Linked DNA regions of Homo sapiens: regions 2, 3, 4, 5, 6 and 7 are each linked to region 1. Evidence: promoter capture Hi-C in 16 types of primary human blood cells and fetal thymus (Javierre and others, 2016). All regions are on one chromosome and are shown on one strand. The core of a region is centred on a gene start or on the middle of the fragment in contact, and the rest is flanking DNA. Distances in the headings are between cores, read along the strand shown.

Region 1 (2,980 bases), core at 371-2,870:
GAGCGGGGGGCAAGGGAGCCCCAGGCCCATAGAACTGGGTCTAAAGAAACAGGACCTGGCATCCAGGGTCTTGGAGGAGGAGGGGCTGGGGGTCTGGACTCCTGAGTCAGAGGGAAGAGGTGCTGGGGGTCTGGACTCCTGGGTCAGAGGGAAGAGGGGCTGGGGGGCTGGACTCCTAGGTTTGAGGGAGGAGGGGCTGGGGGCCTGGACTCCTGAGTCAGAGGGAAGAGGTGCTGGGGGCCTGGACTCCTGGGTCAGAGGGAAGAGGGGCTGGGGGGCTGGACTCCTGGGTCAGAGGGAAGAGGGGCTGGGGGGCTGGACTCCTGGGTCAGAGGGAAGAGGGGCTGGGGGGCTGGACTCCTGGGTCAGAGGGAAGAGGGGCTGGGGGGCTGGACTCCTGGGTCAGAGGGAAGAGGGGCTGGGGGGCTGGACTCCTGGGTCAGAGGGAAGAGGGGCTGGGGGTCTGGACTCCTGAGTCAGAGGGAAGAGGGGCTGGGGGGCTGGACTCCTGGGTCAGAGGGAAGAGGGGCTGGGGGCCTGGACTCCTGGGTCAGAGGGAAGAGGGGCTGGGGGCCTGGACTCCTGGGTCAGAGGGAAGAGGGGCTGGGGGTCTGGACTCCTGGGTCAGAGGGAGGAGGGGCTGGGGGGCTGGACTCCTGGGTCAGAGGGAAGAGGGGCTGGGGGCCTGGACTCCTGGGTTTGAGGGAGGAGGGGCTGGGGGCCTGGACTCCTGGGTCAGAGGGAAGAGGGGCTGGGGGGCTGGACTCCTAGGTTTGAGGGAGGAGGGGCTGGGGGCCTGGACTCCTGGGTCTGATGGAGGAGGGGCTGGGCCTGGACTCCCAGGCTCATTCTCTTTCTCCCCTGGCAGAGCAGAGGAAGCGTTACTCCACAGTTGTTATGGCTGATGTATCCCAGTACCCAGTCAATGTGAGTCTGGGGTCTGTGTTCCCCCAGGACATCTTCTGGGGCAAAGGTGGCCTCAGGAGATAGGGCTTTTGAAAGCAGCTAGGCCCCCAAGCAGGAAGCATGTGGAAAGTCAGTTTGCCCATCCATAAAATGGACCTCCGTTGCCTCACCTCAGTCATGGATATGAAGCCAGGGGCCTCGGGTCCACTTAATCTGCCAGCCTTTCCTCCAGGCCAGCTGTTGTGCTGGACAGTGGGACCACGGAGGCAAATCAAGACACAGCCCTGCATGAGGAAGGGGTAGACAAGGTCCAGAGGAATCCACAGAGGCGCCTGGTGCTCTAATGGAGGTGGCAGGGGGCATGGCAGGAGACCCGAGGAGGCATTTAGAAGGAGAGAGCTATAATCCAGACTCCTTCCCTGCCCGCAAGGAGCCTCCAGTCTGTGAGAAGCCAGACTCAGGTGCTAGTCACTCTGATGAAAGGGAAACAAAGGGCACTGGGAGGAGGAGCTGATTTGTGGAACAGGTGATCAAGGAAGGCTTCCTGGAGGAGGTGTGGTTAGTCTCAGGCTGAAAGTCTGATTATTCTGGGGGATTCTGAGCCCACCTGGCATCATCTTGGGCCTCACTGCTTTCTCCATGGTCCGTACCAGCACCTGGTGACGTTCTGCCTGGGTGAGGACGATGGCGTGCATACCGTGGAGGATGCCTCCAGGAAGTTGGCCGTCATGGATAGCCAGGGCCGAGTCTGGGCACAGGAGATGCTGCTGCGAGTGTCTCCCGACCATGTCACGCTGCTCGACCCGGCCTCCAAGGTGCCGGGGGGCACGTGGGTGGGAGGAGTGTCTGGGGCAGGGACTTCAGGGGGTCTGGGTGTGAATCTTGGCTCCTGCACGTCCTTCCTCTGGGAACTCTGGCGAGGGACCCCAGCCCCCTTCTTGAGCCTTAATAGCCTCATCTATTAAACAGGGCTGTTATCCCTAACCCCCTAACCGCCTGAGGTTGCCCTGACCTGCTGGCCCACACTCCCGTCGCCATTTAGTAGTACCATCATTTCGGGGCCTCAGTTTACCCCGCCATCCCACCCGGCAGGAGGAGCTGGAGTCGTACCCACTGGGCGCCATCGTGCGCTGTGACGCGGTGATGCCACCCGGCAGGAGCCGCTCGTTGCTGCTGCTCGTGTGCCAGGAACCCGAGCGCGCGCAGCCCGACGTGCACTTCTTCCAGGGCCTGCGCCTCGGGGTGAGCAGATGGGCTGGCTCTGGGGGTGGAGCTGGAACTGGGCGGAGCCTGGAGCCGGGGCGGAAATGGGTGGGGCCTCTAGGTGGGGCGGGGCCTGGGGCTAAGGCGGGATCAGAGCAAGGAAGGGCAGGGGACCTGGGAAGGAAGTTCTGGAAGGCAGTGGGGTTTGAGATTGGACCCAGGGTCAAGATAGAACATGAAGGTGGGATGAGGACATGAACAGAACATGGCCAAGAAGGATCTGGGGGAGCAGCCAGGACGAGGTGGGGGCGAGGAACCACCCGGACTGGGTCTCCATGGGCGGGGTCGTGGCTTAGGGCAGGGACAGGTGTAGGGCGAGGGGTGAGTTCGGGGCGTGGACGTGCGTGGGTTCACAGGTGTGAACGGTAGCCGCACGTGGGCTGGGACTGAGCTGAAAAATCGGCCAGGGGCGAGGCCCGGGTAGGAAGTGGGTGCGGCGTGGGGAGGCGTGGCCTGACGGTGTGATTGGCAGGCGGAGCTGATCCGAGAGGACATCCAGGGGGCTCTGCACAATTACCGCTCGGGCCGCGGGGAGCGCAGGGCGGCGGCGCTCAGGTGAGAGGGAAGAAGTTGGCAGGGTCTCTGGGAAGCCGGTTTCCCCTCCTTGTGCCTCAGTCTACAACACCAGCCTGGAACAGAACAAGAGTTTTGCATGGAGTCAAGCACACCCTAGTCGAGTCTTGTCTGTACCTCCCAGACGAGCTGACCCCTTCTCCAGAACTCTGCTTCTTTTCTCTGTTCCCTGTCCAGGCCCTCAGTTTCACTCTAGAGAGGTGCTATCCCTCCGTATATCGGATTTCTCCCTACCTCG
Region 2 (3,175 bases), core at 81-2,580, 600 kb after region 1:
GAGCCTTGTTCACAAACCTGCCTCTCCTTTCCCCACAGATCTTTGTGGAGTTCACCTCTGTGTTTGACTGCCAGAAAGCCATGCAGGGCCTGACGGGCCGCAAGTTCGCCAACAGAGTGGTTGTCACAAAATACTGTGACCCCGACTCTTATCACCGCCGGGACTTCTGGTAGAGGCGGCTGGGGGAGGGTGGGGGCAGGGCTGGCTGGGGGCTTCTCCCCACTCCCGCCCCCCCCTTATCCCCCTCTGAAGACGATGGGCAGAGGAGTGACAGCCGCAGACACACGACAGCCGGCAGCAACTGGAATGGCAGCAATTAAGGGTGGGGGGCGGGGGTTGGGGGGTTGGGGGGTTAGGGCAGGGAGGGGACTGGGGAAGTGCGCACACAGCCCACACAGACAACACGCACCCACACAGACACAGAGGGAAGGGGTTGGGATGGGGACAGGGTGCACAGCAGGGCGGGGTAGGACCCCAGCCCCTCCCAAAACAGCCTCTCCTTCTCCCATAGACCCCTTTCTTCTCCCCTTCCCCACGGTAGGAACATAGCGTGTTTATATTTTATGGCCAAACTATTTTGAATTTTGTTGTCCGGCCCTCAGTGCCCTGCCCTCTCCCTTACCAGGACCACAGCTCTGTTCCTTCGGCCTCTGGTCCTCTCTGGTCCCCTCCTGGGTTTCTTACGTAGTTGATTTTTCCTCTTTAGTCTCCCCCGACCTGCGCCCAGCCCCGTGGCCCCTGCCCCTCTCCTACTCTCTGTGGCAGTTTCATATTTGCTAAGACGAATTTGCTCATTAAACATTTTGTTGTATTTTACTTTATGGAGCGGCTGTGTGTCCAGTATGTCCGACCCTCTTCCTCGGTTCTGGGCTCGGGTGGGGGTTCCCTTGGCAAACTGCGGGCCCCTGGCTGGGACGCCCCTGCTGCCGGCGCCGGCAGCCTCGAGGCCTTCCCTGCTTGCGCGGTGCCCTTCTCGGGGTCGGCACAGGCACAGCCCCGGGGGACGTGAGGTTCCCGAGTGCTCTCCCACCCCGCCGACAGGAGGGATGGTGGCCGAGCGGGCCGGGGCGGGCGTGGCGTGGGTGTGCCAGGAGCTCCGCGGTTGCCGCCAAGCGAGCTGGAGCTGACTCTCGGCGTTCCGTGAGCACCGCGCGGATCCCCCGCTGCAGCGGGCGGAAGTGACGTAGAGGCGCCTAGCAACGGGGCCCAGCGCGCCGGAAGTGATGCCTTCCAGGTTGGCTTGGCTGCGGAAGCGACTCCTGCCAGGGCGGGGTGCGGCACGGGAGGGCGGGGAGCGCGGCAATTTCCGCTTCCGGTCCGTCGCCTCCTTCTGTTGCTTCCCGTCTCCTCGGCGGCTCCCCTCCCCCGCCCGGCTCTCCGCGCCCCTTCTGGGCGGCGGGGCGGCGGAGCCGTCGGCGTGCGGCCCTCCTTGCGTTCGTGCGTGCGCCCGTGGCCCGGCGCACGTCCCGCGACACCGAGGCCGAGCGGGGCAGGGGGCTGACCGCCATGACCCCCCAGAGCCCGGCGTGAGGGGGCCGAGGTGAGCGCGGGGCGGAGCGCGGGGGACGCTGGCCCGCCTGCTCCGGGTGTTCGGGCCTGGGCCGCGGCGCGCGCGGGCTCGCGTCTGGCCAGTTCTGGGTGTCTCTGGCGGCCTTTGTGTCTCTGCTCCTGTGTCGGCCTTGACTGCCCCCGTGTCGGTTGTCTGTGTCTGTCTCTCTCGTGTCTGTGTGTCTGTCAGCGTCTGTTTCCTGTGGGCCTCTGCCTGTGCCTGTTTCAGTGAACTTAGAAAAGGGTTTGGAGATAGGAGTGTGTTTGTGTGTCTGTCCCGGGTCTCTCTCTCCTCTGTCTGTCGTGTCTGTGTCTGTCAGGATTTGTTCGTGTCTCGTTGAGTTTCCGAGTCTTCTTTTCCCTAGGTGTCTCTAGCCCTTCCCTGCGGGCTTTTCTGCCTATGGTGCAAATCTTACCCCCGCCCCGTCTTCGCATCTGAGTTTTGCCCCCATACCTATCACCTCCAATCCTGAAGTTTCTTTCCAGGAGTCTGTTAACTTGATCTAGAATCTGCCCCTTTTCCCCAGTTTTCTGAGTCTCTGGTGTGATGGTGAAGAGCCCCAGCCTTGGATTCAGAAGCCCGGCTGCCTGCTAAGCTGTGTAATTGCCAGGTGATAGTCTCTGTGTCAAAACCTCAGTTTCCTAGTCGTAGGAAATCCATAGTTCGTAGGCATTCGTAGTTCCTACATCATAGGGTCCTTGTGCATGTAAGTTGAGGTGATGCTTGTAAAGTGCCTGACGGTATCTGACACATAGCAAGTGTGTAATTACTGGGAGCTCTGGTTTTTATTATTACAGTGCTTAGAGATTTTTACACAGTAAGTGTTAGATATCGGTCGGTTATTGGAGTACTCCTTGGAGAACTTTGCCATATCCTTTGTATTCTTTTTAATGTAAGAATTCTCTTTGAATCAATTTAATTTGAAATACAGTCTCATTCTAAGCAGTATCTGAGAAATCTCAGCTTTGATGTGCTAGTTGGGTAATTTTTTCTAATGCACGCCAAATAAGTACAGAGTATTAAGATAGTGCCTTTTCTGCCGCCACCCTTTTGGAAATGTTCTCTGTTTTTTCTCTGATAATAATAGCAGCCAGTGTTATTGAGCGCCTACTATCTGTGGGGCACAGAGCCAAGCACTGCATGTACCCATCTTATTTAATCAACAGGCCTACCAGGTAGGAATTCTTTCATTTCAGAGTTGAGCAAACTGTGTCTCAAGGAGGTGTGCGCTGCAGGTAGCTGATGTGGCCAGGATTTGAACCCACATTTTATATTCTTTGCCATTAGATTCCATTTTTCTTATCTCTTATTTCTCAGCGCCAGGTCTCTTTTTGTTTCTGGGCCTCTTTCTTCCTTGGCCTCCTGCCTCCCTGTCTTCCCATGTTCTTGTATCTGCTGCTGCCTGTGTTTTTCTCATTGTGTCTCTGCCTAGCTCCCTCTGCCCAGGTTTCTATGTGTCTCTTTCTGTCAGAACTGTCTTCTATTTCTTCTCAGTCCCCTTCTCTGCATTTGTTACATCATCTCTTCATCTTAATGTATTAGGCTGGGGCTGTTTTGGGACTCCAGAGAGTTACTTTTTAACTAGCTACATCTGTCTTCAGGTGCCTGGCTTTCTGGCCTGAGGTG
Region 3 (3,107 bases), core at 539-3,038, 520 kb after region 1:
GTGTGCCGGGCAAAGTGGCGCCGCAGGTCTGAGCGGTAGCGGAAGCTCTTGCCACATTCACTGCAGTGAAACGGGACCCTGGGGGCGGCAGCGGCGGGCGGTGCTGGTGCAGGGGTTGGGGCGGGGACGTCATCCATGGTGGCGGGGAATACAGTGGTATGTGGGGGCTCTCTCTGGAGTAGTGGGGAGACAGAGGAGCAGGTGAGGGGGTCGGCTCCCCATCAGCTCTCTCCTCCCAGGTTCCCAGACCCACCACCTGTCCCCTGGGAGACCCTCCCACTGCCCACCTCTCTAAGCCACTCTCATTGTTCTTTAAAATCCTCCTACTCTCTTAGAAACCCTTCTCTCGCGGCTCCACGCCTGTGGCAAAATCTTCCTAATCACTTCATAGTCTCCTCACTCCACGGAGTGTTTTTAAGCCTCTCCTCGCTCTTCGCCAATGCGCGGCCACTGCTCTCTGTGCCCCTCCCACTGTAATTTAAGCCTCTCCCACTCTTCCTTAAGTCCCACCTACTCCCTTCAAAGTCCCCCACAATGTTCCCTAAGGATCTTGTATTCTTTGCCAAGCCCTTTTCCTTCCAAAAGGCCCTCCCACTCCCCTCTAAGCTCCTCCCACTCCTCTTCCAGGATGACCACTTAGCGAATGGGAGGGCAAAGATTTGGGGCTAAGCACACTGGAGTCATCCTTGCAGGGAGACCAGAATTACTCCTGTAACATCAGATAATAAAAATTCTTCATCTGTAAAATGGGAATAGTAGTACCTACCTCATGGAGTGGTGGCGAGAATTAAGTAAAATTGTGGCAATAAATGCTACGTGCCCACTTAAGCTGGTGCACAGCAAAGACGCAACAAGTAAGCTGTTTGGATGACTATTATCCCGTAAGTTCCTCCTGGATTCCTCCTTAAGTCCTACCATGATTGCTAAGTTATTTGACTTATCTAAGCCCCTCTCGGGTCCACTAAGACCCACTTCCAAAACTCCACCCAATTTTTCCTTTAAAGAAGCCACATCCTTTCTAAGACTCTCCACTGGACTCCCGTCACCTTCTCAGGCCTTCTCTACGAAGTCTATTCCCATCCCCTGCAAGTCCTTTCCACATTCATTATAAAGACCTGATAGTTGCATTAAACCCCTCCAAATTACACCCTTAAACTCCACCCCCCTCACTAGGCCTACCTACTTCTCTAAGCCACACCCCAGACAAACTCCATCCCTTCTACTCTAAACTCCTCCCTCCTGCTTCCTGGGCTCCCTTTACCCAACCAGCCTCAATGAGTTTCCTTCCACCCCTCAATCCAGGGCCTACCCACCATTCCTTCTGAGCCACGCCCCTTTATCAAACCCCACCTCTTTGCCTAAGACCCTCCCATTTTCTATCCAGACTCTCCCTCCTCCACGCCCCTCCCACTTCCACTCTAAGCTCCGCCCAACTCAGGCTCCTCCCAGCCCTTGCTCCGCCCCAGCAGCCACTAGGCCCCGCCTCCTCCTCCACCCCGCAGCCTGAGGAGCGGGCCCCCCCACTTGCCCAGTCTGCTCCAGGCCCCAGGCCCCGAGAGCCGGCCTTTTGTGCCCCTCCCCCTGCCCCTAAAAGGTGCAGCCCTGGGCGCCCGGTTGGGGGGCAGGTCGGGCAGGCCCCGGGGCCAGGCGAGTCCACCTCGCTCGTACGGAGCGTTGGTCCTGGAGACCCGGGGCGGCCCCGGGAGGCCGGGGAAGTCCGTCGGCTTTCCTCTTTAATTACTTACACCTCCCTCTGGGCGCCGACATTTTGGGCAGCGGGGGCAGCGTCACTTCCACCCGGGGGGCCCCTCGACTTCCGCCTCAGCTCCCTTCCCCCGCCGTACTCCCCCTTTCTCCCGCCCTCTTGGCTCCCCTTCCTCATCCCCGCCCTTCTCCCTCTTTCCCTTTCCTTTCCCAGCCCTGGAGGTTGAAGAAGCCAGGCCCGCGCCATCTTGGGTGAGGGCAGCGGGAAGGGGCGGGGCTTAGGGACACCCACGGCGCCATACAGACTAAGGGCAAGGAGCTGAGAGCGAGGGGGCTTCTCCGTGGCGACACTAGGCGATGCTAACGTAAATGAGAGCAGATACTATTTCTTTTTCACAGCCTCGGACTCCTCCGATTAGGATGTACAGTTGGACTAGGGAAAAAAAAAGAAAGCGAAGTGCGCCAACTGCAATACAGAGCTGGAAAAGACCGGCACCATCTTATCCACTTAGCACTCCATGGGCTTCGAAGCCTGTCCGGTGCCATGTTAATTACGGGCACTGGGCAGCCATTTTCCCGCTCCTCATCATTCGGTATCTGTCTTTGGGTCACCCGACTGTGGGCTTTGTGAGAGGAAAGGCGTTTCGAGGTGGTTGGGGATGTGGTGCTGGGTTATTTCCCACTGGGGACACACCAGGGCCGCCGGTGCGCAGGCGCGGCTTCCGGGCGTGGCCGCGACCGGTCGTTAGGACCCAGCGAGTCCCCTTTGTTTCCCGCGGGCGCGCAGGCGGGCGGGAAGGGCAGGAAGGGAGGGGCCCGGCGCTTCTCCGAGGGGCGGGGCCGGCACCGCGCGCCGCCGCCCCCGCCTCGCCGCCGCCGAGGGGCAGGGCCCCCTCACCCCCTCCCCTTCCCACGCGCCGGCCCCGTTGCCCCCGCGCGCGCGCACACTCGCGAGCCCCGGCGACATGCAAATGAGGTACCCGAGAGGCGGGGGGCGCAGGCGGGAGGGGGGGTGTGGGGGTAGGGGAGGCCGGGCCGCGCGCTCCCGGAGCGCGCCTCCAACACCTGTTCCTGCTCCCGCGCTCGCGCCCCGCGAAGCCGTCCGGGCGCGCGCGCGCAGACCCCCTTCCTGGCAGCCCCCGCCGCCCGCTTACCCGGCGCCGCTCATTGGCCGTCGCCCCCGCAGGGCCCGCCCCGCGCTTGGGCTTCGCAGCTCGGGGGCCGATGGGCGCGTCAGTACCGGGGCGAGGGGACGGGGAGGGTCGGGGGACCAGTCTCCCCCTTTCCACCGTTCCAAAGACCAGACTCCTAGACTAGGCTACCCCGTGGGAGCGAACCGTATGGAAAGGTGGTTGCTCCTCTCTGGACAGCAGTCTATGTGGCTGTTAAAGGGGAGGGGGGGG
Region 4 (3,257 bases), core at 654-3,153, 560 kb after region 1:
ATTGTCTAAGTAGACCAGGGGTTCTCAGCTAGGAGCCATGTTGCCTCCTAGAGGACACGGGCAATGTGTAGAGACATTTTGGGTTGTCACAACTTGGGGTTGGGGGAGGGTGCTACTGCCATCTGGTGGGTGGAGGCCAAGGATGCTGCTCAACACTCTACAGTGCACAGGATGGGCCCCCACAACAAAGAGTGGTCCGGCTCAAAATGTGTGGTGGCCCACGCCTGTAGTCCCAGCTGTTTGGGAGACTGAAGTGGAAGGATCACTTGTGCCTGGGAGGGTGAGGCTGCAGTGAGCCAGAAGCATGCCACTGCACTCCAGCGTGGGCGACAGAGTGAGACTCTGTCTCAAAAAATATACATACTGCCCAGTAAAATGTTTAAAAAGTACCTTGTGTCCCAAACCAAATATAACTGTGAGGCCTTTTGGGCCCTTGGGCCTCCAGTTTACAACTGGTTGACAGTGGTCTCTGGAATTGTTCCATAAGGTAGGAGCCATATGTGGCTTAAATTTTGATTATGGGAAATTAGTATTTTTTGAGACAGTCTCCCTCTGTTGCCCAGGCTGCAGTATAGTGGCACGATCTTGGCACACTGCAACCTCCACCTCCTGGGTTCAAGCGATTCTCCTGCCTCAGCCTCCCAAGTAGCTGGGACTGTAGGGGAGCACCACTACGGCCGGCTAATTTTTGTACTTTTAGTAGAGAAGGAGTTTCACCATGTTGGCCAGGCTGGTCTCGAACTCCTGACCTCAGGTGATCCGCCCGCCTTGGCCTCCGAAAGTGCTGGGGTTACAGGTGTGAGCCACCGTGCTGATTATGGGAAATGTAATACAATTTAAAATTCAGGTCCTCTGATACACCAGCCACATTTCAAGAGTGTAAGAGTCCCACGTGGCTAGTGACTGTCATAGAACTTTCCACCATTGCAGAAAGTTCTGATGGACAGTGCTCTAGGATGTAGCTGTGGCACCCCAGGGTCTTGGGGCTCGCTGTGACAGTTACTCCTCTTCTGTCCCCCACTCTCAGCTGCACCTGCAGATGCTGCTGCTGCCGCCCTCCTGCGAGGCCGTGGCGCCACGTGGCTGGAGGAGGAGCTGCAGCTGCCCCGAGTGCTGCCGCGTGTGCAGCTCTCCAGTGCGGCTGCAGCGCCACCGCGCGTTGCTTTCGACGCCGGAGTCCTTCGCATGCGCAGCCAGCGCCCGGGCCTCAAGTGCCCCAGGACCTGGCGCAGCCCGCGAGCCCGCATCAGGCTTCCAGTGGGCCCCGTGGGCAGTGCCAGCCTTTCCCACCTCCGCATCTGGCAAAGCCTGGCCTTCGCTGCGCTTCGGTGTCGCCACATGCCTTCTGGAAATATCACACCTCCCCACCTGCGCATGCAGCCGTCTGGCCCTCTGTGGGCCTCGGTTCCCGCATGTGCCCCGTGGAAAGAACATACCTTCCCCAACTATCTGGCAGCGTCTGGCCTTCTCCGGGCCTCGGCCTCCCCATTTGCTGGGTGGAGAATCACGGCCCGGCCACATCGGAGCCAATGGCTGGTCTCTGGACCTCGGTCTCCACATTTGCTCAGCCGGCAGGAACATCCCTTCTCCCGCCCTCTACCTCGGTGGGTGGCCACGGCCGAGCAGGCAGCGACGGCCCAGTGGAAAGAGGACAAACCCTTGTGGGCCTTAGGGCGAAGACGTAACTTTGCTTAGTCTCGGTTTATTGGCCGATCTCTTGTCAAGCGGCGGAATCGTTCCGTTCGGGAGGTGGGAGGGGAGCGGGGCCGCCGGGGGCGGGCGTCTTCAGTGGACCCCACGCCTCCGGTCCCCTCCCCGCAGGGCGCTCCGCAGAGGCGAGGGGTGGGAGCGCCGGCTCCAGGCGGCGGAACCTCCGCACTGGGCTCGCGCGCTTCCGGCCGGCGCCTTTTCCCAGGGACTCCGCCAACCCCTCGCACCCCCGCGCCCCCAGTCCCCGCGTCCCCGGCGCCGCCGGCCCGGAGCTGCCCGGAAGTCTCGGTTCCGCCGCCGGCGCTCGCCAGGGGAAGCCCGGGGCCGCCCGGGACCTCGGCCCGTTCCTCCGGACCCGAGAGGCCGCCGCACGGGGTACGGGGGCCGGGATGGAGGGAGGAGCCTGGCCCTGGGACGACGCCGGGGCCAGGCAGGCTGGGGGAGTGCGCTGGAGCCACCCGGGATGGGGGTGGGGGTCGGGAGCGGCAGGATCGGGCGGAGGGACGGGAGGGGAAGTCGAGGCGCCAGGGCTCCTTGGGGAAGTGAAGGCAATAGGAGGGGCCCCAGGGCCAGGGGACAGGCGGTGTGTAGCGGGATGGGGGCGAAAACGCCCGGGCGCTGGGGTTCCCATAAACAAGGGGAGCAGAGCAAAAGAACGGGCGGGGGACCACGCTGTGTGTAACAGGGAGAGGGATGGGGCTCCTGGAAGAGGTGAACACGAGGAGAAAGAGAGATGCCAGACGTACACAGAAAGGAGGGGAAAGTGGGCTTGGGAGAGGTGCTGTGGGAAGCGGAGTCCCGGAGCCTGGTGTGCATAACGGGGTTTGGGAGAAGGCCCCTGATGGGTACAGAAAGAAGTAACGATGTCACCGCCATATATGGGGGGCGAGAGAAAAGGGGGCCTTTGGGGAGAATGTAGCAGGTAGCCAGGTTGGGGGGGCGGGGTATACAGAAGGAAGGCATTTGAGCCATTTTGGGGTGTATAGATGTAGTAAGACGATGGGTTCCGTAGTGGGGAGAGGTGACTAGACTTCGAGGTGCTAAGTGTAGGAACAGGATGGAAAAGCCCTAGTGAAATGTGGGGAATTGGGTTAGTGGGGCTCTGGGGAGGTACCTAGAGAGGAAGTGAGGGAGGCCACGGAATATGAAGATGGGGAGGCCCTGCGGCATGTAGTGGGGACGGAGGGCCAGGAGGCCGATACGGGGGCCGGTGGGGGGGTAGGGGGCGGCAAAGGGAGGGGAAGTAAACTGAACTGGGGCTGGGCAACAGGAAAAAAGAAGAAACCACAGATTAGAGAAATCTCGGCGGTCAGGAGGCCCGGGGTCTAAGATGTAAAGAGGTAAACAGATTTAGGGATTGATTGTCTGCTGGGGTGGGTTGAGAGGAGAAAAGGGAAGAAAAGTCGGGGGACTACGTCCTCAGACCTGACCTGAGTGGTGAGAGGTGGACCCAGGAGGAGTGGCAGGTGGTGGCGGGGTTTTGCAGAGCTCAGTTGGAGGCCCTCTCCGAGGCAGCTTGATGGAACGTGGGAGAGCCGGGCTGGAGT
Region 5 (3,104 bases), core at 491-2,990, 620 kb before region 1:
TTTCCTGTGTGGGCTGTTTGCATCCATTGTCTCCTCCAGAGGTCTGGGGGTGTCACTCCAGGGGGATCTCAGCCAGGGGCTGGAAAGGCCCCCCTGTCCTCCCTATACGGCACAGCCAGAGTGTCTGCAGGGGCTGGCACCCCACTTCCTGGCTGAGGGTGAACTCCAGCTTGGGGAGGTGGACCTGGGAACCATGGGGCACCTTGGCCACGGTGAGGTGGGGGTGCAGCTGCCCTGGAGACTGTAGTGTACTCAGCCCCTCGGCTTCCAGCCTCTGGCTCAGCACTTGTGCCATGCTTTCCAGTGTGGGAGAGGGTGGGGCACACAGCACATGCGGGCCCAGGAGGACCAGCTTTCTAAAGCTCAGCCGAGGGGGTGCATTTAGCCCCGGGGCCAAGAGGGCCCGTCTCAGAGCTCCAATGGCAGCGGCCTCCTCCCCAGCGCCTGCCAGTCGCAGCAGGGCCAGGGTCAGGTGTAGGTTCTGAGAGGGCACTAGGAAGTTGGCGCAGTGTGGGGCCACGTGGACCAGGTATTCCTGGGCCTTGGTCACTTCTGCTTGTAGCCCAGGCTCGGTCACCATGAGGGCCACAAAATGTGTGGGGCGCGGTTGGCAAGGGGCTGCAACACTAAGGCGGGCCCTTTTGTCCTCGGGCCAGGCCGCAGGACCCCACTCGGCTTCTGTCGTCTCAGCGGAGCCCCCCGGGACTCCCAGGGCCTGTGCTTCCTTGCCCCCCAGCAATGTGGTCCTGGTGGCTGCTGTTGGCTTCAGTGCCTCAGTCACTCCGGCGAGGCGTCCTCTTGGGGCCAGTGTTCCCAAATCAGCAGCTGTGCCCAGCGCCCTCTCCTGGGCCGCCTCCAGCTCTCCGGGTTCCTCCACGCCTGGTTCCTGGTGCCCTGTGCAGAGCGGCCTTGTGCTCCCTCGCTTGGGGGCAGCCTGGGCCTCCTGACCTGTCCCCGCCAGTGTCCACTCGGCACCCTCTGCCCCGTGGGCGCCCTCGGTGTTCGGTGCGTCCAGGATGGTGGGCCCGCGTCCCGCCGCCGAGCCAGAGCCAAAGACGAGGTCGGTGCGCGAGGCGCGGTCCCACACAAGGCGGCCACGGAAGCGGAAGAAGCGCACGCGGTGCTGGGGCACTGCCAGCACGCCCGGCCCGAGCGCCGCCAGCGGCTGGTCCCAGCAAAAGGCGCTGAAGGGCTCCTCGCGCACACCCAGAAAGCGGTCGACGTAGCCCACCGAGAAGTCGGCGGGGTCGAGGCGCGGGTCCCAGCGGATGCGCTGGATGACGTCCGCGGCTGTGCGCAGCGGCGGCTTCTTGGCCCCGGCCTCCGGCTGCGCCTCGCGGCCAGGCGGCGCCGGCGCCCCAGGGTGGGGCTGGCGGCAGCGGGCGCCGAAGCGGCAGCGGCCTTCCAGGAAGAAGCGGCAGGCCGGCGGGGGCGCGGGTTCCGTGGCGGGGGCTTCCTGCGGCAACTCCGGCTCTCTGGCCGCTGCCATGGGTGCGGGGAACTGGCACGCCCGCCGCGCAGACGAGGTCGCCCCGCACGGAGGGCGGCTCCCCTTGGATGCACCGAGCCTCACCCGACAGTGGCGTCAGCGGCCCGCGCTCCGGCCTAGCTCTGGGGACCACGCCGCGTGCCCTCGCGAGGACTCTGGCCCAGTCCCTCCTTGGTGGAGAGCCTGACACCGCTGCTCTGGGACTTCCCGGCTGCGCCCTCCCCCAGCGCCAGGAAAGCAAGCTGCGTAAAGGCTGCGGCAGTCTCGGTCTCCCGGAGCTCTTGGGAGCCTGGCCCCGCCCCTTTCCCGGTGATTGATGTGTGCTGCCTCTTTCTGGGTGATTTACATGTAATGCCCCGCCCCTTTCGGGATGATTACGTGTGCCTCGACCTTTAGGTGATTTACATGTAGTGCCCCGCCCCGTTCCCGGTGATTTACATGTGGTGCCCCGCCCCTTTCCTGGTGATTTACGAGTGCCCCACCCCTTTTAGGTGATTTTTTTTTTTTTTTATGTGTGCCTCTCCCCTTCCCAAGTGATTTACATATGTTCCCCGCTCCTTTCAGGGTAATTTACATGTAATGCCCCGCCCCTTTCCGGGTGATTTACGAGTGCCTCTCCCCTTCTCAAGTGATTTACATGTGTCCCGCCCCGTTCCGGGTGATTTACATGCGTGCCCTGGCCCTTTCCCAGTGATACTTTTGTGCTGCCTCTTTCCGGGTGATTTACGTGTGTGCCTCTCCCCAAGTGATTTACATGTGTGCCCTGTCCGTTTTAAGGTGATTTACATGTGGTGCCCCGCCCCTTTCCGGGTGATTTACCTGTGTCCCATCCCTTTCCCGGTGATTTACATGTGGTGCCCCGCCCCTTTCCCGGTGATACCTGTGTGCCCCGCCCATGAGGGGACGTCTTTAAAGAACCTGGACCCGCCCTCAGTCCAAGTGATTTACATTTGCGGCCCCGCCCCTCTGGGAAACTTACGAGAACCTGGCCCCTCAGTCCAAATCATTTGCATGTTCGGCCCCATCCCTCGGGGGCCTTAAAGAACCAAGATGCCTGCGGACCCTTCCCCCACGGAGACCAGGCCCCTACTGCTCTAAAAGTGTTCTCAGACACTTCCCTCTGCAGCCGCTCCCAGAGTAAACGGCGGCTCCGCCGGGTCGGAGTCCACCTGAGGCGTTCAGGGCCAGAAAGACTCCTGGGGCTGCAGCACTCTGCAGCCCCGCCTCGGCTGGCCCCGCGGTGGCTGAGTCTGGCCCGGCCCCAGGACCACGTCCGGCCGGCGGTGGCGCACAGTATTTGACGAATGGGACTGCGGGAGCCGCCGCCTCTGCAAGGGGCACCGCCTGGCCACGCCCTCGGGCTCTCTTAAAGGAGCCGCACCCCCACCCCAGGGCAATCATCGGACCCGGACCAGGCCTCCGGGTGACACATCCGGCTCTCAGAGGCGCCAGGACCCTATCATTCATCCCTTTCCACGTGCAAAGTGAAAAGTCAGAGCCCGGGCACACACCTTGGCCGTTTATGTATACAGAAGTGGGGTGCCGGGCGGGAAGGGCGCGGGGAATGAGGGAACCTAGAGGCCGATGACGTCGTTCAGCTCGAGGTCCGCGTTGG
Region 6 (3,061 bases), core at 231-2,730, 920 kb before region 1:
GATTCATGGCCCCTCTGATGAAGTGGGTGAGGCCAGCTTACTTTCTCCTGTCGCTTTTCTTCCTTGTACTCTTTATTGCCTCTGATCACTCCTTTCCCTTCCTCCAGCAGCTCCCGAAACAGGTCCACAGGGCCAGAACCTGGGGCTCCCGCCTCTGCTGCTTCAAGCTCAGGCAGTGAGTTCTGATGTCTGGCTTTCTTCCGTAGGAATTCTGTACGGGCCTGGGGAGAAAGTTATAGGCAGGACATTCAGAACCTAGAGGTAATTCAAGAACTGTGAGTCTGGTGCCCACCACAGAAAATGGCAGTCCAGGGTGCTGGGGTTATGAGAAAGGGAGCACTAGGCGCCTAAAAGAGGCACCTGTCCTAGCTGGGGGTGAGGGTAGGCAGATGAGGCAACGCCTGGGTTTTGTAAACTCCCTTTCAAATAGTAAACCACGGGTCATCAAGGATGTATGGGAGGAGGTCCCTGGCCTAAACCAAAGGGGTTCCTAACCTCAAGTGAGACAATTAAAACAGCCATAAAGGTATGCATTAGGCCAGACGATCTGAATTCTAGCCATGGCTCCAAGTGACTACCCCAAGTCTGCTGAAGCCCTGTCCCCTGCCTTCAGGACGCGGATTTCAAACAGCGCTCAGCAGCCTACTGAGATTCTAAAAACCTAGACTACCTCCCACCCACGGCGGAGGATCAGACTAGCTAAGGAAATGAAAGTTGGGTGTACACCAAACAGATTTAAAGAGCCATACGGAAAGCCCGTGTTTGTGTGTATGTGTCTAGGGGGCGGTGCACGAAAGGGCTCGCCCGATGGCGTGGAGCCTGGCTGTCCGCCTCTCCTTAAAATGTGCCTTCCCCTCACTGAAGCCATCTCACTTCGTGCAACAGAGATGACAGTGCCCCTCTAAGAACGAACAGTGCTTATTGGGGATTCCGCAAGTCAGGTGCACGGCATGTAGTTAGCATACAGTAGATGCTCAATAAATAGGCTGTGCAGGCAAACTAAAAAGTGATCCGAATTTCCTTGAACTGTCCAAGGGTTCACGGATTCATTAAATGTTAAGCTTCTCTTTTGTGCTAGACACTGTTCCAGCCATGTGAAATACATCAGTGGGGGAAAAACTAAGACGAGGGCGAGATCAAGGAAGGTTTCGTGGAAGTGGGCACAAGGTTTGCGGGGCAACGTCCTCGAAAGTGGGATCGGCGCCTGGTCCCGAATTTCACACGGGGCACATTGAGCCTGCGCAACGCCTCCGCTTCCGGCCCCCAACCGCGGCGCCTGCGCGCTGGGCCCCGGAGCGCCGCCCTGCCGGCTTCCGAGCTTACCTCTTGCTGAGCCAGCAGCACCCTCCGCTCACGCTCCTTCTCCTCCTCCCGGGCCTGGGCCTCGTCACGCCGCACGCGGGCGACATTGTCCTTGTTCCGGACGTGCCAGCTCTTCTTGGGCAAGATATTCATGGCGTCGTAGCTGTCCAGGGACTGGCACGCCCGCCTCTTTGCACTTCCGATTGGCGAGAGGATGCCCCCCTTTTTCTTGTCCCTACTTCGACCGCGGATTGGTTCCGAATTAGTTGGTACGGCCCCCTGGCCTGTAGCGACAGGTGATTGGCTGAGACGCCCTTTATCACAGCGAATGCTAGGCGTTCGGCTCGTGGTATCCCCTAGCAACCGCCTCTTGTCACAGATCTGAACCAATCATAAGTTGGCCCGCCCCTGATGCTACCAGATGCGGCCGTCGATTGGCCGACATGACCGACAAGTCTCCTTGCGGAAGAGCGCTCTGCACCGACAAACATGCCCGTACATTTGATTGGCTCCTGCCCCGCTGTAGCCCTGCCCCCACCTTCAGGACGCAGATTTCAAAGCGCGCTCAGCAACCTCGGCTGTATTTATTGATACAAGGAAGATCACCCGAGAGTCAGGGACGTGGCGGCGAGGGGCCCTGGAAATCTCCAGATACCAAAGCTGGAAGGGCGTGGAGTCTTCTCCAGTTCTCCTAGTTTACAGATGTTGTGACCTAGGCTTACAATGGGCCTGGGGTCTGAAAGCGGGACGTGGGCTGCGGGGGTCAAAGAGCCGGTTTGGTGGAGGTCAGCGCCACAGCGCGCCGTGCCAGGAAGACTTTATTCTGCGCCTCCTGGGGCAAAGAGAGGTGGAGGTGAGACAATCCTCTTCCCCAACCCCTTTCCATGTTCCCCAGGGGCCCTCTCAGGGACCCGCCTGGCTCACCGTCTCTCTCTGACGTTTGAGCTCAGAGATGAGGCGTCCGTAGGAGTTAGCCAGAGCCACAGTGTACGCCATCAGGATGCTGAAGGAGACAGGAACGGAAGCCACTCCTGACACGCTCTTCCATTATATCCAAACGTCTGGCTCCTTCGAAGCCAGGGATGTGGACGCCTAAGCCCCTCCTCGTCTGGGCTCAAGGAGTTCAGTCTCCCAGCCCCTCCGCCTTCAGATCCAGGAGTCCTACGTCCCGCCCACCTCCTCCTTCGGACCCAGCAGTCCAGGAGCCTAGGCCTCCTCCCTCAGACTCAGTACGTTGCCTGCTCCCACGCCCAAGCCTCTCCTCTCTTGGACGCAGGTGGTGGCCCCCAGATCACACGCATTCAAACCCAGACCCAGAAGTCTGGGCCGTCTCACCTGGAGATCAGCAGAAGGGGCACAGCAAAAGCCTGGGTCCCCAGGAAGAAGAGGAAATTCTGGGTGGTCTCAGGGAGGCTGGAAATAGACTCAGGGATCTGGGCCCAGATGGACGACTGCCCCCGGAATGGACCACACAGCTTAGAAGGCGGGATCCTGAAGTCAAGACAGGCTGGGCTCACATAGTGCCAGGAGTCTGAACACTGAATGGGGAGAGAGGGAGGGAGAGAGGCGGGAGCCTCTCGCACTTACAGGAAGATGCTGTAAAGCAGGGGAACGCTGGAGATGGCCAGACCCAGGAGAAGGACCAAGGGGAAAAAGAAATTCGCCGCGGAGGCCCGGAAGGTGCGGGCAGCCGGGGAGCAGGTGGAGAAGAGGGTAAGCTGGTGGGGGAAGGCACGGAGAAAAGGGCTCTGAAACACAA
Region 7 (3,315 bases), core at 616-3,115, 540 kb after region 1:
CACGCCCCAATTATTAAAGCTTGGGCTCCTCTGTTATTTTCAGACAGGGCCTCACTCTGTTGCCCTGGCGCGATCGTGGCTCATTGCAACCTTGACCTCCTGGGCTCAAGCGATCCTCCCACTTCATCTCCCTGAGTAGCTGGGATTACAGGCATGCACCACCACATCCAGCTAGTTAAAAAAAAATTATTTCTGGCTGGGCACGGTGGCTCAGGCCTGTAATACCAGCACATTGGGAGGCTGAGGTAGGCAGATCACCTGAGGTCAGGAGTTCGAAACCAGCCTGGCCAACATGGCAAATACCGTTTCTACTAAAAATGCAAAAATTAGCCAGGTGTTGTGGCTGCTGCCTGTAATCCCAGCTACTCGGGAGACTAAGACACGAGAATCGCTTGAACCCAGGAGGTGGAGGTTGCAGTGAGATGTGATCATGCCACTGCCCTCCAGCTCAGGCGACAGAACAAGACTCCATCTTAGACAGCAAAACAAACAAAAATTATTATTATTATTTTTAATGTAGAGGGAGTCCCACTATGTTGCCCAGGCTGGTCTCCAACTACTGGGCTCAAGAGATCCTTCTGGCTCTGCCTCCTAAAGTGCTGGGATTGCAGGCGTGAGCCGCCGCGCCCGGCCCATCCTCCAGGATTCTGTTGTATCCTCATCAACATTTCCTCTCCTGTCCAAAATATATCATGGATCCCACCTTTTGTCCTCCACCCTAGTTAAAGCCCCATCACTTGGCGCCTCCAAAATTGAAAAACCCAAGGGCATCTCTGTTCCTATTTCTGCTGGCTTGTAACCCACCTCCCAGGAATAGCCTGAAGGTCTTTTGAAAATGTAAATCAGATCAAGTCATTTTTCGCACTCAAAACCCTCCAGTGGCTCCAAATGACTTATCCCAAATCGTCACTATAATATCTGTGGCGATGTAGCTCCACTTATCTCTCTGACCCCAGCTTAAACATAAGCCGGCACCCAGCTGACTTCTCTCGTCTAAATTTAGCTGCCCCACCCCTACTCTTGGCTCAATTTATAGAAATTGGCTCAATTTTTATTTCCTTTATAGAACATATCACAGTAACTCTCCTTTATTGTCTCTCTCCTCTCAAGAGACTGCAGGCTCCAAAAGAACACAACCCTTGTCTGTCTTGGTCACTTCTCTATTTACAGAGCCGAAGTAGGAGCTCAGTAAATGTTTGTTGAATGAATGAATGTCCTCAATTAGTCTAATTCTGAGTGGGGTAACGTGGAGGAAGTTCCAAAGTCACCTAGACCACCCACTTCTACCCCCAAATTCTCCCTTGGGCATTCGAGAAGCATCACTAAGACCCTTGAAGAATTATCCCCTACCCCGACATAGGTGCTCCAATCATAATCCCCCACGTTTTTCAGGGTCACCTTCCCAACCTTCTACCCTAGAATTAGCCCTAGAATTTATGAGGCCCCGCCCCTTACAAGGCTCCACCCAAATTATGCAAATTATCCCTGGTAAGCCCCCTTCCCTGGACCCAAACCCGTCCCACAAGACAACACCGTCCTCAGACTCCGCCCCCATCCAGGCCCCGCCCACCACCCATAGGTCCCTCCCCCACCCCGCCCACCATGACATAGTCTCCTCCCCTGCCCCGCCCCTCGCGAAACCACAAGAAGCCCCACCCCCAGGGCCATAGCACTAAATACCTCCCTCGCCCACCCCCTCATAGGCCACGCCCCGGACCCGCCCCCCACACTACGACCTCCTCCCACCTCGAGCCCCACGCCCAGGCCCCTTCCTTGCCCGCACCAGGTCCAGTGGCTCCTGGGATCGCGACTCCGGAGTCGGTGAGCTCCGACTCTGGGCCTCTGGGCGCGCAGCGGCCATCTTGTGCCCAAGCCCCGCCCCCAAGGCCAATGTTCGCTCTGAAAGGGGGTGGGGCTCGAACTGGCGTAAGAGCTACTGCGCAGGCGCAGTGCGGGGCTGCGAGGGGGCGTGGTGCAGCAGGGGGCGTGGCGGGGCGGGGCGTGGCGGCTGAGCCCGGGAGAATGTGAGTTGTTCCCTCTCTAATTACCTGTCTGTCCCTCCGAGGGTACGCTCTGTGTGGCGCTAGGATGCCTGTAACACCCTGGGAACAAATCCGAACGTTCCTTCTAAACCAACGCAGGCCGACTCGAGGCTCTGGCTGTCAGGGGAACCTCAGCAGAACTGAAGAAGCTTTGCTTTGTTTCCACGGTAAACGTTTTTGTGATTACCTCTGCACTGCTCATGACAACGTAATGACGCCAAGTTTATAAACGTCGGTGTAGGCCGGGTGCGGTGGCTCATGCCTGTATTCTCAGCTACTCGGGAGGCTGAGGTGGGAGGATCGCTTGAGGCCGGGAGGTCGAGGCTGCAGTGAGCCATGATCTCGCCACTGCATGCAGCCTGAGTGACAGAGACTCTGTCAAAAAAAAAAAAAAAAAAGGCAGTGTGGAGAAAAATATTCAGTAAACAGCAACACAGGTGGTCCTGGGAGGACGCAAAAACCCGCAAGCTGATGTTATGTTTGGGAGGAAAGAGCTCAAAAACGCGGGGTTTTCAGCAGCATCAAGGACGGGGCTCTTCTTAGCTGCCCCGTTTAGTCATTCTGGTGGTATCACCTTGGATAAGTCACTACACTTCTCTGGACCATTTCTCTTTCTTTTGTGTAGCACTGTAGAAGCATTGTGACAAACCACTGAGAAGAGACATGGAAGAGTTTGGAAACATCTTTAAATAGTTTTCTTGAAAGGGCAGGATAGGAGATACTTAAACATGATCCTAAGCATGATCATTTCATTCATAAATATATATGAAATTATATTTTGTGATATGTTGGTATAAAATAAAGATAAACACCACTTAGGCTGAATTATCTCCTCCTCCTCCTTTCTTCTTCTTTTATAGAGATGGGGATCTTGCTGTCTTGCCTTGCCCAGGCTGGTCTTGAACTCCTAGCCTTAAGCGATCCTTCTGCCTTGGTCTTCCAAAGCTATATTTCCCTTCTTTTCTTTTGATTTTAAAATAATTTTTTTTTTTTTGAGATGGAGTCTCACTCTGTCGCCCAGGCTGGAGTGCAGTGGCATGATCATGGCTCACTGCAACCTCTGCCTCCCGGGCTCAAGCGATTCTCCTGCCTCAGCCTCTTGAGTAGCTGGGATTACAGGTGCCCGCCACCATGCCCGGCTAATTTTTGTATTTTTAGTATATACAGGGTCTCACCATGTTGGCCAGGCTGGTCTCGAACTCCTGACCTCAGGTGATCCGCCCACCTCGGCCTCCCAAAGTGCTGGGATTACAGGTGTGAGCCACTGCGCCCG

What was found. The method cuts DNA at HindIII sites, captures the fragments that hold promoters and counts their contacts. A CHiCAGO score of 5 or more calls a contact.
Region 2: the fragment with the promoter of EPN1 here is called in contact with a fragment that was not itself captured in region 1 in 1 of 17 cell types (total CD8 T cells); the score reaches 5.4 in total CD8 T cells.
Region 3: the fragment with the promoter of FIZ1 here is called in contact with a fragment that was not itself captured in region 1 in 9 of 17 cell types (fetal thymus, activated CD4 T cells, naive CD8 T cells and 6 more); the score reaches 10.8 in fetal thymus.
Region 4: the fragment with the promoter of ZNF580 here is called in contact with a fragment that was not itself captured in region 1 in 3 of 17 cell types (activated CD4 T cells, fetal thymus and naive CD4 T cells); the score reaches 7.0 in activated CD4 T cells.
Region 5: a contact is called between the fragment with the promoter of LENG9 here and a fragment that was not itself captured in region 1, in 1 of 17 cell types (endothelial precursors). The highest score is 5.3, in endothelial precursors.
Region 6: a contact is called between the fragment with the promoter of LENG1 here and a fragment that was not itself captured in region 1, in 1 of 17 cell types (total CD4 T cells). The highest score is 6.3, in total CD4 T cells.
Region 7: a contact is called between the fragment with the promoter of ZNF784 here and a fragment that was not itself captured in region 1, in 1 of 17 cell types (erythroblasts). The highest score is 6.6, in erythroblasts.

What each region holds. Positions count from the first base shown.
Region 1 is chr19:55,078,131-55,081,110 of GRCh38, forward strand. EPS8L1 (EPS8 signaling adaptor L1) reads left to right here. Exons shown (of 20, transcript NM_133180.3): 4 at 869-927; 5 at 1,560-1,721; 6 at 1,999-2,148; 7 at 2,642-2,724. Among named protein-coding and RNA genes, the nearest start is that of EPS8L1, 3.8 kb to the left of the region's middle. RefSeq lists an enhancer at 2,167-2,980. The HindIII fragment of the contact is 9,126 bases long and covers 1-2,980 here.
Region 2 is chr19:55,673,896-55,677,070 of GRCh38, forward strand. It overlaps EPN1 (epsin 1), which reads left to right and starts at 1,331. Exons shown (of 11, transcript NM_001130072.2): 1 at 1,331-1,540. U2AF2 (U2 small nuclear RNA auxiliary factor 2) reads left to right here. Exons shown (of 12, transcript NM_007279.3): 12 at 39-821. The coding sequence ends at 173. RefSeq lists silencers at 893-1,112, 1,283-1,612. The HindIII fragment of the contact is 36,539 bases long and covers 1-3,175 here.
Region 3 is chr19:55,597,729-55,600,835 of GRCh38, forward strand. FIZ1 (FLT3 interacting zinc finger 1) reads right to left here and starts at 1,789. Exons shown (of 3, transcript NM_032836.3): 1 at 1,746-1,789; 2 at 1-173. The coding sequence starts at 137. It overlaps ZNF524 (zinc finger protein 524), which reads left to right and starts at 2,560. Exons shown (of 2, transcript NM_153219.4): 1 at 2,560-2,680. RefSeq lists enhancers at 1,160-2,034, 2,035-2,908 and silencers at 1,386-1,805, 2,516-3,065. The HindIII fragment of the contact is 10,107 bases long and covers 1-3,107 here.
Region 4 is chr19:55,639,099-55,642,355 of GRCh38, forward strand. It overlaps ZNF580 (zinc finger protein 580), which reads left to right and starts at 1,904. Exons shown (of 2, transcript NM_207115.2): 1 at 1,904-2,085. It overlaps LOC107983998 (a long non-coding RNA gene), which reads left to right. Exons shown (of 2, transcript NR_171683.1): 2 at 1,028-1,701. It also overlaps a transcript of ZNF581 not described here. RefSeq lists a silencer at 1,754-2,273. The HindIII fragment of the contact is 9,119 bases long and covers 1-3,257 here.
Region 5 is chr19:54,462,038-54,465,141 of GRCh38, forward strand. LENG9 (leukocyte receptor cluster member 9) reads right to left here and starts at 1,741. Exons shown (of 1, transcript NM_001301782.2): 1 at 1-1,741. The coding sequence starts at 1,489. The coding sequence ends at 53. CDC42EP5 (CDC42 effector protein 5) reads right to left here. Exons shown (of 3, transcript NM_145057.4): 3 at 2,989-3,104. The coding sequence ends at 3,064. The HindIII fragment of the contact is 35,995 bases long and covers 1-3,104 here.
Region 6 is chr19:54,158,241-54,161,301 of GRCh38, forward strand. LENG1 (leukocyte receptor cluster member 1) reads right to left here and starts at 1,481. Exons shown (of 4, transcript NM_024316.3): 1 at 1,324-1,481; 2 at 42-221. The coding sequence starts at 1,455. It overlaps TMC4 (transmembrane channel like 4), which reads right to left. Exons shown (of 15, transcript NM_144686.4): 12 at 2,890-3,020; 13 at 2,638-2,793; 14 at 2,227-2,305; 15 at 1,868-2,134. The coding sequence ends at 2,066. RefSeq lists an enhancer at 814-1,483. The HindIII fragment of the contact is 1,716 bases long and covers 1,060-2,775 here.
Region 7 is chr19:55,622,701-55,626,015 of GRCh38, forward strand. It overlaps ZNF784 (zinc finger protein 784), which reads right to left and starts at 1,866. Exons shown (of 2, transcript NM_203374.2): 1 at 1,784-1,866. The coding sequence starts at 1,861. RefSeq lists enhancers at 1,847-2,346, 2,097-2,246 and silencers at 1,847-1,896, 1,967-2,026. The HindIII fragment of the contact is 2,172 bases long and covers 18-2,189 here.